Regions from separate parts of the Homo sapiens genome. Here region 1 is linked to region 2. Evidence: promoter capture Hi-C in 16 types of primary human blood cells and fetal thymus (Javierre and others, 2016). All regions are on one chromosome and are shown on one strand. Each heading gives the region's core, a stretch centred on a gene start or on the middle of the fragment in contact. The rest is flanking DNA. Distances are from core to core; before and after follow the strand shown.

Region 1 (6,066 bases), core at 3,457-5,956, 3.5 Mb before region 2:
CCTTCCAAAGTGCTAGGATTACAGGCGTGTGAGCCACCTTGCCCTGCTGAAAAGAGGCATTTTATAAGTTGCAATAAACAATATAAAAAGTCAGTTATACTTTATTAGAATACTTTAGAGCTCAGTCTCTGGATCATGATTTATACTAAGAATACAAGGGAAATTATCTAGGGTTTTCATCTCACCAATCTCATTTGAGGGGCAAATGTTGTCAGCTACATCCAAAACTGAATAATAATTACTCTTTCCAAGACAAAGAGGAACAACAGTATGTAACATGAATAGGAAGCTTTCAAGCAATGAAAATAAAAATAATGTCTTGGCCAGGCGCGCTGGCTCAAGCCTGTAATCCCAGCACTTTGGGAGGCTGAGGTGGGTGGATCACTGAAGGTCAGGAGTTCGAGACTAGCCTGGCCAACATGGTGAAATCCCATCTCTACTAAAAATACAAAACAGCTGGGCATGGTGGTGGGTACCTGTAATCCCAGCTACTAGGGAGACTGATGCAGGAGAACTGCTTGAACCTGGGAGGTGGAGGTTGCAGTGAGCCGAGATTGCGCCACTGCACTCCAGACTGGGCAAAAGAGTAAGACCTTATCTCAAAAAAAAAAAAAAAAAAAAGTTTTATTTTATGAAAGTGTTGACTTCCCAATTTAGCTTGGCCCCAATTTACCTACATCTTTCACTACTAACACTACCTCTGAAAACAGAAGGGGATCTGTGAAGCAATACCAGAACATTAGGCTTAGAATCCACAAGCCTTGGCAATCTCACTTTTAGCCCCTTTAGTCAAGTCACTTTACCTTTCTGAGTCTTTGAGTTGCATCTGTAACTGAGAACAATATCTTATAAAAGTATGATAAAAATAATGTTCTGTAACATGCTTCCCCCACCTGCTTGTCCTCAATATTCAAATCACTTCTAGAGAAATGAGCCAAACACCCTTTAAAATGAAACGTACACACATACTCACAGCAACATATTACCCAATTCATATAAGAATGTCATCTTGGTCAAATATTTTTCAGCTCATCTAATTAGAAGGAAGCAGTTTGTTTTTTCCATACTCACGTAACAAATGTTAAAACTAACATTTTAATGACTAATGACTGCACTTTATTTATAGTGCTTGCAAAGCAATGGAAAACAGCATACCTAGGTAAAGAACTTCTTTGAAAAAAAAAAATCTGGCTATCAAACAACGTTCTCCACATGTTTGGTAAGCACAAAGCCAAGAAATCATACCCAAGCTAAAACAAAGCTGAAGTCACATAATAAAAGATTGTTTACTGTAGTCAATGCAAAAGCAAGTTGATACTATTTACTCCTTTCAATCTGTAGATTGAAACATACCCGGCCAGTTATACTGATGTAATGCTGATTATAGAACTGAGCCTGAGGCAAAGCTGCACACCAAATTATTAAACTATCAACAAATTATGATTCTCAAGATGACAAAGTATACTATACACTAACAACCTTGGCTTTTGTATAAGTCTTAATCACATCTTAAAATTCTTTTTAGCTAGTCAGTAACATAAAAACCATGTTCACTCTTGTCTTTTATAAATGCATACTTAGATTCTCTCAGTTCTGAACATGTAACACTGTTAATTGTTGATGGGTTAACAAAATAATGGCCTCAGGATTTTTTAGTAACAATGACCTCTTATGGTATACATCTATTTTTACTATTTAAATATTTCCCCTTCAAATCAGGCATTTAGGTGGGTAGAAGGAAGGCTTTTACATTATCATTCCTTCTTATGATTGAAGAAATTATCAACTATTAACAAGTATCTTTTTTCTCAAAAAATACTATTATTATACACTAATGAAAAAAATTAGCCCTCAAATTTTCAAAATTACTCTTTAGAAGGCAATCACACCAAAAAGCACATATGTAGCTTTCACCCAGAGATGCCATTGGCACACAAATATTAACAGTGAAAGACAGCTTTTGTTTTACTAGAAAGACTTGTACAAAAAACATCAGTTCATGGATTCTACATACCCAAAAAACTGTCTTCAAATTAATTTAGTTTGGAAGTTTAATATCATCCTGAAAGTTGAAATACTTACTTACCAGTTATAAACAGTATGAAGGTTGTATAATGATATCCACCAAAACGGATCCATTCCACAGAAACTTTTATATAACACCTACTCTCAAATATTATTTCCATCTTTTTTGGCACTCAGAACTAAAATTTGCGTAAGCAGCGCAAGCAATGGAGATTTACCTCACTACATCTTAGTTTTACAAAGATGTGGAAAGCAATATTAGATGCATCAGCTTCACCCACCCCACTCTAGCATCCAGTATTATCTTATCTTCTACAACAGTTTCCAACACAAACCCTCTACTTCCATGCTCCATCTCCCACACCTTTTCATACCATGCTTTTCTTTCAAACTAGATTCATAGCTCCTCGACAATAAGCATACTTATTCTTCATTGCTTTTCATTTCCCTCAAAAGAGTATGCAATCTTAGATATTCAATAGATGTTCAATATTAAACACACTACTAATTTAAAACGGAATTGACTGTATAATCTCAGAACACATTTTAGTTTATAGACAGGAAAACAAGGACAAGTGAAGTGGCTGTCCCAAAGTCTGTCACAATTACTCAAGTAAGAGCAGAAGGACTCATGTCCAAATCTAACTCGCAGTCCAGTCTTCCAGTTACGTCATTACCTCCCTCCTTTCCACGTTTTCTTCAAAAGACTAGTCAACTGGCCAACTACTGACTTAAAAGTCTTTCATATAATGCACTGAATTCCAAAAATCGGTAAGATCATCATGTACAGTACCTAGAAATTAAGACCTGGCAATATACATTCATTTTTAAAGGCCAATTTTAAACCTTTAAAATAAATACCAACCTCATTTGACGTGAGAGGGTAAAGAAACAGGAGATTCAATACATCGCTACCATTAAAAGGCATCTCCAACAGATGATGTGCCACCTCATCCACTAGTAGTAGTTTTGTTCAGGCTTGGGAGAAACAAATCTAAATCTGACTTACTTAAATTCCAATTGTTCACAACATGGTTTCTAAAAAAGCCTGTCTTGGAAACATATACGTCAAACTCATGAACCTAATTTTCACATCAAACCAGAAACAAATCAGGATAATAGTTCTCCATTAATTCTTTTCACGGATACAAAATGCTAATATGATACTCCACTATTCTGTACTAAAGTGACGTGCTGCAAAGTTAATTTTGAAAAGGGAAGTTAAAATGTTCACAGCAGAGATCAGCATTTTGTGTACTTTAGAAAACTGAGTTACAAGAATTTAAAAATACAACACAAAGCTAATAGCTAAATTAACTACCTGTTTCCCCAACCCCCAGGGGAAAACAAAAGGGAATTAGCTAATATAAAGTTTAGTGTTACTAAGTGGACTACAACATTCTATTTTCAGTGTATGTGAGACATTATTTAAACACTAAGCACAATGTCTGGAATACAATCTCAGTCGACAGTTATTATCACTACTACTACTTGCAGCCACAAAATACTATCAAGTAATTTTTGCAACAAAGATACAAAATTTACCGCTCTTCCATTTTATGTTGTTCATTTTAAAAATAAACGGCAAAATGCCAAGTGTGTTAAGCTTAGAGAAGGCTTTGAGTCAGCATATAAATCATATTCAACCGACACTTGATTTCCAATCCAAAAGCTCCTTATGTAGTATGACTCACCAAATTCCCGATTTCTTCCAACTATGAAAAATAAGTTACACTCCTCCCTTATAGCTACCACCATGACCTTCGTAAAAATTAGGTTAAGAGAATAATTTAAAAATTCTTAAAGACACCCCTTACCTTGATTTCTGGAGAAGATCGCTTGGTGAGTTTAATACAAACCACCAAGGGGTACTAAAGCTGTGTGACCTTTAGGTATGTTCTGGGATACGGCCTAACAAGACTGCCTTTGGGGGATCCTCTGGGCAGCTCTGGACCTAACTAGGCCTGGGTACCAGCGGCAAGACTCTTACTCAGCCCACCGGAGAGGCCCAGGCTCCATTCCCAAGCCGCAGAATCCAAGCCAGCTCACCCTCAAAACCGTCCCTGACGATGACCCACAGGGTCTCCGCTCCCCCTGCCACCTCGTCTGGCGCCAAGGCCGGCTGACTCAAAAGCCCAGGAGTCGAGTGAACGGCGCCATTTTAGGCGGCGGCGGCAACCAATCCCTGCGCGGGAGGCAGGGGGCGCCGGGTCGTTAGGAAGCCGCCGCCGGCCAGGATGGGCGCCGGTCTCGGAGACTCGGGGGGCCCGGACCGGCGGCCTCCGCCATGTTGCACCCTCCTCACGGCCGCCTTTTCCTCGGCGGGCTCGGCCCCGCGGCGGCTGTCCGCAGCCGTACTACAGCTCACCTTCTCGCAGAGGCTCTTGACCTGGGACTCGGACAGCTGCTTGCACTCGTTCAGCTGCTCGATCCACTGGTCCAGCTCCTTGGTGAACACCTTCTCGTCCATGATGCCACCCGCCCCAGCCGGCTGCCGCTCCGCGCTGCTCCCGCGCCGCCGCCCGCACACGGGCCTACACGCACACGCCGCCGCCGGTTCCTCGTGTACTTCTGGCGGCTGTTGAGGCTGGCGCTGGCCCGCTGGCTCTCACCGCAGTACTCGGCCGTCGGCCGCTGCGCCTCCTCCTCCGCTCGCTGAGGCTCCAGAGCTCGGCTCTCTGTAATGGCGGCCGCCGGGCGTGGTGACGTCACGCCCGGCGTCAGGAGGCGGCGGGGAGCGGAGGGGAAAAGGGCCGGGGAGCAAGCTGCGCAACTGCAGAGCCCTCCCCGGGCGGCCGCACGACCGGAGTTGGGGCGCAAACTGGGGGTCAAAGCGCAGGCGCGACGTAGCCGGCTGGTAACTGAAGCGCCTTGACTTTTTGGGCGTGGCTCCCGGAGGGCGGGGTGGTGGGGGAAGGGAAGGATGGAGCTGGAGCATGCGCAGTGCGCACAGCGGCGAACCGGACTAATCCCTGAGCACTATTCCAGGAGAGGCGAGGGCTTGGGCCGCGCGCAGGCGCAGACCGGATGGAAGCCGGGGCCACTGGCAGCCTGTAACTGGTTCCCCTGGGAAGGCCGCTCTGGTGATGAACTCAGCTCCTCACCTGGGGCCTGGCAGTCCGATCACGGAAACGAGAATTGCGACCCCGTGGCTCATCTGGGGTGCTGCGGCTCTGTAATCGTGTGGGTTTCCGTCATCTTTGGGGGCAGGAACGGGCAGCGAGTGGCCGCTTGGATTAACCACCCCCACCTCTGGGCGCGGCTGGCACCTTGTAATTAGGTCACTCGTAGGTGGAGGAGCGTGTACCTACCGGGGGAGTGCTGCGCAGTGCACCTGACTTCCGCGGCACACACCCGTCCCCGGACCTAGGTGTCTCGTCGGGCGCGATGGCGGGGGCGAGGCTTGGGCTTTTCTTTGGGCCTCGGACCGCGGCTCGCTTCCACGCGCCCCGCTCCTCGCCGGTGGTTGCTTTCCTCCAAGTTTAATTCTCTCTGGGAATGAGAGACCCTCAACCCCTGCGCGCCCTGGCCTACTTTCAAGAGGGGAAGCCCAGAGAAGATGGATGCACCTGTCCTGACCGCGTCTCGGTGGCGTGAGAAGCAGCTGTGATACGTGCTTAAAAGAGAGAGCTCGTATACCCTAGGATTGGACCTCTGTCTGGTTATGAATCGCTTTGGAGTTTGCGAAACGTTTTCACATTCCATTGTCCCTGCTTTTACATAAATATCTGGTTCCATAGAGCGCCAGCTATATGCCAGATCCGGAGGGGTCATCCAGACGGACCAGGGACCATGCCCTGGAGCTTGTATTCTCCCAACAGTACTGGCTGAAGATGGTTTGGGATAGGCAGAAGAGAGATCATAATGCCCCCAGGATTTGAAAGATATAGAAGCTTTCCAAAGAACATTTAACCATAAAGGGCAAGGCAAGAGCTGAACCTGATCGCCTGTCTTCCAGGAACCCCACCCTCAGTATCAGGCAACCCTTCCACACCCAAGTGCTCAGCGATGCTTGGGAGGAGACTGCTCACTCTGCGGCTC
Region 2 (5,739 bases), core at 1,855-4,354:
CTAGCCTAATAATCTTAACCTTTCTTCTTACTTCTTTAAAAGCCCTGCCAATCAGGAAAAAAAAAAAAAAAACTGGCAAGAACTAGACCTTAGGAATTGAACAGTGACAAGAAGTTAAAAAATGGTTCAATATTAAAATATTATTTTATTTTAAAGCCCAATCTTTCAGAAAGCTTCTTAGTATAGCTTTGAGCCTTCAACGTCAACATGTAAGTCAAATATTTAAGTTAAATATTAACATCAAGTTAAGCATACTAGATTAAAAGGTACTCTGAACCCACCCACCAGGTTATACATACTCTCACTCAATCATGTAAAGAATTGAATTCTTTATTTGTGATATCCATAAACGTTGCTATTCTCTATTTCTATCCAGAAAGGCAATTTTCACCTATTATCACTTTTGTTCTTCTCTTATAAACAACAACTTGAATGCTATTGCAGGAAAGGGCTACAAATATACATTTGTTAACCAAGCAGAATACACAGATATTTTGCTTTACAACTTGCACCTAAAATACCAGTATACGTAGCTGGTTCATTAGTTGTCATAGCAATTTAGGGCTATTGCCCAAGCTATGCATAGCAGTTTACATTTTCAAACCTCATATAGAAAGGGCTATTGTGATATGAACTGGCAACTACATTCCTGTGAAGCCCATCTCAGTTACAAGCAAATGTGTTAACTTCCAATTCTGCAAAGAATTTTGATGGCAAAACTTCCAAATCTGATGCAATTGTCTTAAGCAAGTTTTTAAACAAATTGTTTCGCAGCTACTCTGCCATTCTGCCAGTAGATGGTGCTACAAAGATCGGGAAAGGGATTTCCATGAGGCCAACAGTTCGGATATAGGAAAAAAAAAAAAAAAACGTTTAAACCTGCTCTGAAAGTACAAAAACGCATTTGAGGGTAAAATATAACCCTTATTTTTAACCATTCATTACAGACAAACCAGTAAGAGGGATGAAACTAGGCCATCTGAAAAATTTTAAACAGTTTATATGAATGACATGCTTAACACAAACTATATAGAACTACACAGTACACAGTTTGAAGTAAATTGTCATAGAAATGACCAACCATGTCAAGATGATAAACAATTCGCTTAGTACAAGAGATGGATGCACAGAAACTTAAGAGTTTAAAAAGCCACATCCACCACTTCAAAAGTTTTGCCTGTAAGGGATATAATTCAACACGCAACTAGCAGGGCAACAGGAGAGGGGAAAAAAACCACAGGACCTCTTAAGTTTCTCTAAGTACACATCAAGAATAAAGAATTAACACGTAAAGTCTTAAACAAATATCCCTTAAAAAACGGTACGGAATGGATCCTAGAAAAAAAATGTTAGACATGTACGGTCAAACACAATGATTTATTAAAAATAAAACGTAAAAATGATTTTTGTACATATGCTTCCAAATTTCAGGCATGGGATCCAAGTAGATTTCATAGAAAACGCTGTAGCCAGGTTATCAAGTCCTTACAACAAAGTAAACTACCCCCCACCCCAACCCCCACCCAGGTTTTGCTACAGAATCAGCAAGTTCACTCCCTCCCTCCCCCCAAAAAACACAAATTAAAACAAGACATTTTGCTAGTATAAAAACGACCAAGGTCCAAGTAATAATAAAAAAATAGAGTCCATCAATGACTGTAACACAAAAATGTGTATGTGGGGCCGAGTCCATCTTCAGAGGGAGAGACAAGAGAGGTGGCAGGCAAATAGAGGAACACCCCCAAGGGTAAGCAGCCTTAGAAGTGGCTCCCCCAAGGGCAAAACAGGGAAGGCGGTGTGTGTGAGGGGGTGGGGCTTAGGAGTTGACCCCACTTGGGCTGTTGGAAAGAGCTACCCCTATAGCCACTCCCAGGCATTTTAAATTTTCTTTTAGAAGGAGCTGCCTCCATAGCCACCCCCACCGCCATAGCCGCCTCTGTAAGGTCCACTATTACTGCGACCGCCCCAGCTACTGCCTCCACCGCCGCCGCCGCCGCCGCTCTTCATGGGCCCATAGGAGGACTGATGCTGGCTGTAGCTGCCGAAGCCGCCGAAGCCGTTACCGTAGTCGCTCCCACCGTAGGACGAACCGCCGCCGCCGCCTCCGTAGGCATTGTAGCCGCCGCCTCCGCCGCCGCCGTAACCACCGTAGCTGTTGTAACCGCCGCCGCCGCCCTTGGAAAGGCCGTTCTGGTCTCGACCACCGCCGCGCCCCCGGCCGCCTCGGCCGCCCCGGGAGGATCGGGAGCCGCCTCCACCCCCACCGGAGTAGATATCCTCCTTGGGGACTGCTTTCTTCACCTCCACGCGATGGCCCTGAATCGGATGGAACTTGACCACCGCGGCCTTGTCTGCCGCGTCGTGATTCTGGAAATACACGAAGCCGAATCCACGCTTCTTGCCGGACTGCTTGTCGGCAATAATCTCGGCCTTTTCCACGGTGCCAAACTGCGAGAAGTGCTCGATCAGGTCGCCCTCAGCCACGTCTCCTTTAAGGCCTCCGACAAAGAGCTTCTTAACCTTGGCGTGGGCACCGGGCCGCGCCGAATCCTCCCGGGACACCGCCCGCTTCAGCTCCACAGTGTTGCCGTCCACGGCATGGGGCGAGGCGGCCATGGCGGCGTCCGCCTCCTCCACATTGGAGTAGGTCACGAAGCCAAAGCAACGGGAGCGCTTGGTCTGGGGATTCACCACCACCACGCAGTCCGTCAGAGTCCCAAAGGCCTCAAAGTGGCCGCGCAGGCCCGACTCACTCGTCTGCACATTGAGGCCGCCGATGAACAGCTTACACAACTGAGAATTCTCCATCTCCAAGGCCCGGGCCTTGCCCCCGCCCTGCGAGCTCCGAGGTTTCGCCGTCGCCGCCGTTATCGTTGGTTAAGGCCTCTACACAGCTTGGGCCCAGCCGTTGCTGGAGCCACCCCCGCCGCTCACCGACGGGGAAGGGAAAAAGGGAAGGGGAGGGAAGGAAGGAAGAGAGGAAGGGGGAGGGAAGGGGAGCGGTGCCGGCTAAAGGGCGAGCCGAGGAGACTGGAAGACAACCAAGGCCACCGCTACCGCCGCCGCCGCCACCTCCGCTCCCCTATCTGGGCACCACACAAAGAGGCCGCTGAACGCGCGCGCACCCTCCCCGAGGCGTGCGTCACCGCCGACGTACGGCAGCCTAGGGCTACCAGCCAATCCCCGCCTCGCTCCCCTTAATCCCGCCTACCGCGCCGCAGCGCCGCTCTAGATCACGGACTCCCCGCCCTCCGCGGTCTATTCAAGCCCGCGGCCTGTGCCGCTCCCGCTTCCGCTTCTGCCAGCCCACTTTCATTCCCGAGCGCCCCACTGTCCCTTGACATGGGTCCCTCCCTGCCCTCCGCGCACCACCGCGATTCATTTCCTCCTAGCACCGCGGCTGTTCCCAGTGTTTCTCCCCCTCCCCTTTACTCATCCCCTCGCCCAACTCCGCAGTGGCGTTCGCGCCAGCCCCTTGAGAGACATCTGAGTTCAGCCAATCACCGTGATCCCCTCGCACCCACTTCCGTTTTCGGCAGCTGTTGGACGGGCGCGCTCCCCGGTGCGCGCTTGCCCCGGCGCCCCCGGCGTGCAGAGCCGGCCTACCACCCCCGCGCCTTCTCCCGCCCAGGGCTTTGCCGGGGAGAGAGCAGGGGGCGCGCTGGGGGCCATTCCCAACGGATGCGGTCTGGGGCGCCACGCGCGGGCTTTTTGAAAACTTGACTGTTGGGGTTGGGGGCCCGGATCTACCCGCCGCCTCTCCGCTTGTCCGCTACACCTGGCGTCCCCGCCCCACCTCCCGCCCGCACAAAGATGGAGGGCAGAGGCCTGGTCCACGAAGGCGGTTATTAACCGTTTACAGTGGGCCCGACGTGCGGTTAAACTAAAACTTTGCCACGTGGCCCTGCGCAAAAGCGAGCCCGAGGCGGCGGTGTGAAAGACAACAGGGAACCAAAAGAACTTCAGACATTAGGAACCAGACGAGGCGCGACATCCCTGCCTCCCTGCCACCCTCCCGCCCTCCTTGAAGCCCTCCCACGATGCCCTCTCAGAGGAGGCCCTTTCAGGTCCCCTTGGCACACTCCAGCAGACATTTTCATTTAACCTCAGTGAATGGTTTTTTATGTGTAATTTACATCATCTATGTGTTGCTTTCTTTGAACTAGAATGTTAGCTTTTTTGTTGTTGTTGAGATGGAGTTTCACTCTTGTTGCCCAGGCTGTAGTGCACTGGCGCAATCTCGGCTCAGCAACCTCCGCCTCCTGGGTTCAAGCTGTTCTCCTGCCTCAGCCTCCTGAGTAGCTGAGATTACAGGCGCCCACCACCACACCCGGCTAATTTTTGTATTTTAGCAGAGATGGGGTTTCACCATGTTGGTCAGACTGGTCTCAAACTCCTGACCTTAGGTGATCCATCTGCCTCGGCCTCCCAAAGTGCTGGGTTACAGGCGTGAGCCACCGCGCCTGGCCTAGAATGTTAACTTTGCTTTTTTTTTTTTTTTTTTGAGACGGAGTCTTGCCTAAGCTGGAATGCAATGGCACGATCTTGGTTCACTGCAACCTCCACCTCCCGGGTTCAAGCGATTCTCCTGCCTCAGCCTCCCAAGTAGCTGGGACTACAGGCGGGCACCACCACACCTGGCTAATGTTTGTATTTTTAGTGGAGACGGGATTTCACCATGTTGGTCAGGATGGTCTCAAACTCGTGACCTAGTGATCTGCCCGCCTCGGCCTCCCAAAAGTAGAATGTTAGCTTTTTAAAGATGTTGGGTTAGACGAATGTTTTACAGAGAGAGAGATCATATACCCCTAAGTTACTGCTTTTAGTGCCCTCACTCAGATGGGAATGGAAGAAAATTACAATGGCTTCCATTTATTGAGCCTTTGTGTGCCAAGCAAGATAAATGGGGTGGGACATAGTTAATATGAGGCATTACGTGACCAAAAGCCTCCAAAACCATATGGTAAACGCTGAAGAAGTTAAGAGGAATTCCTCACTGTATCCTCAAGTATTCAGGAAAGATTTAGGAAAGAATTGGAAGTTGCACTGAACCTCAGAGCCAAAGACTAGTTAGTATCCTAAGCAAATTAAGGCTGGAACAGAAAACCAAATACCACAAGTTCTCACTTATAAGTGGGAGCTACACATTGAGTACACATGGACACAAAAGAAGGGAACATTAGACATCAGGTCTTTTTTAAGGATGGAGGGTGGGAGGAGGGTGAGGACTAAAAAGCTACCTATCAGGTATTATGCTGATGACTTGGGTGACAAAATTATCTATACACCAAACCCCCAAGACTAACAATTTACCCACATAACAAACCTCCACGCGTATCCCTTGAACCTAAAATAAAAGTTGGAAAGGAAAAAAAAAAAGATTTCTGTAGGGAGTTTATTTGAGCAAAATCCAGAGGGAACATAAGCTTCAAGAGACAGGGAGTGGGCCAGTTAGTTTGAGAGAAGCAGGCAGTTTTAGATAGAAAATAGTGAGAGGTAAGATAGGTTGAGGGTCTTTGGTACTATGAAATGATACTATGGAATGTGCTGAATCTTAGGTTAAGTAGTTTGGATACTGTAACAAAGGTAAATAGATGGGCTAAGGTTTGAGGGTAAACTAGTCTGATCTATCACTTACCCTGTAACCATTCAGTTATGTGACTTTGGCTAAGTTACTTAACCTTTTAAAAAAATGTAATCAGTTTTATTATCTTAAAATGGGAATAATAAAACATCTTT

Evidence for each region. The method cuts DNA at HindIII sites, captures the fragments that hold promoters and counts their contacts. A CHiCAGO score of 5 or more calls a contact.
Region 1: a contact is called between the fragment with the promoter of PPP2CA here and the fragment with the promoter of HNRNPA0 in region 2, in 2 of 17 cell types (neutrophils and fetal thymus). The highest score is 8.9, in neutrophils.

Annotation. Positions count from the first base shown.
Region 1 is chr5:134,221,367-134,227,432 of GRCh38, forward strand. PPP2CA (protein phosphatase 2 catalytic subunit alpha) reads right to left here and starts at 4,707. Exons shown (of 7, transcript NM_002715.4): 1 at 4,394-4,707. The coding sequence starts at 4,495. It overlaps MIR3661 (microRNA 3661), which reads left to right and starts at 4,391; the gene lies at 4,391-4,486. It overlaps PPP2CA-DT (PPP2CA divergent transcript), which reads left to right and starts at 5,044. Exons shown (of 1, transcript NR_186539.1): 1 at 5,044-6,066. RefSeq lists enhancers at 3,997-4,106, 4,446-4,965, 4,966-5,487, 5,487-5,646, 5,488-6,007. The HindIII fragment of the contact is 2,287 bases long and covers 3,630-5,916 here.
Region 2 is chr5:137,751,259-137,756,997 of GRCh38, forward strand. HNRNPA0 (heterogeneous nuclear ribonucleoprotein A0) reads right to left here and starts at 3,105. Exons shown (of 1, transcript NM_006805.4): 1 at 1-3,105. The coding sequence starts at 2,808. The coding sequence ends at 1,891. RefSeq lists enhancers at 1,764-2,455, 1,865-2,024, 2,535-2,884, 3,146-3,837 and a silencer at 3,465-3,824. The HindIII fragment of the contact is 5,253 bases long and covers 172-5,424 here.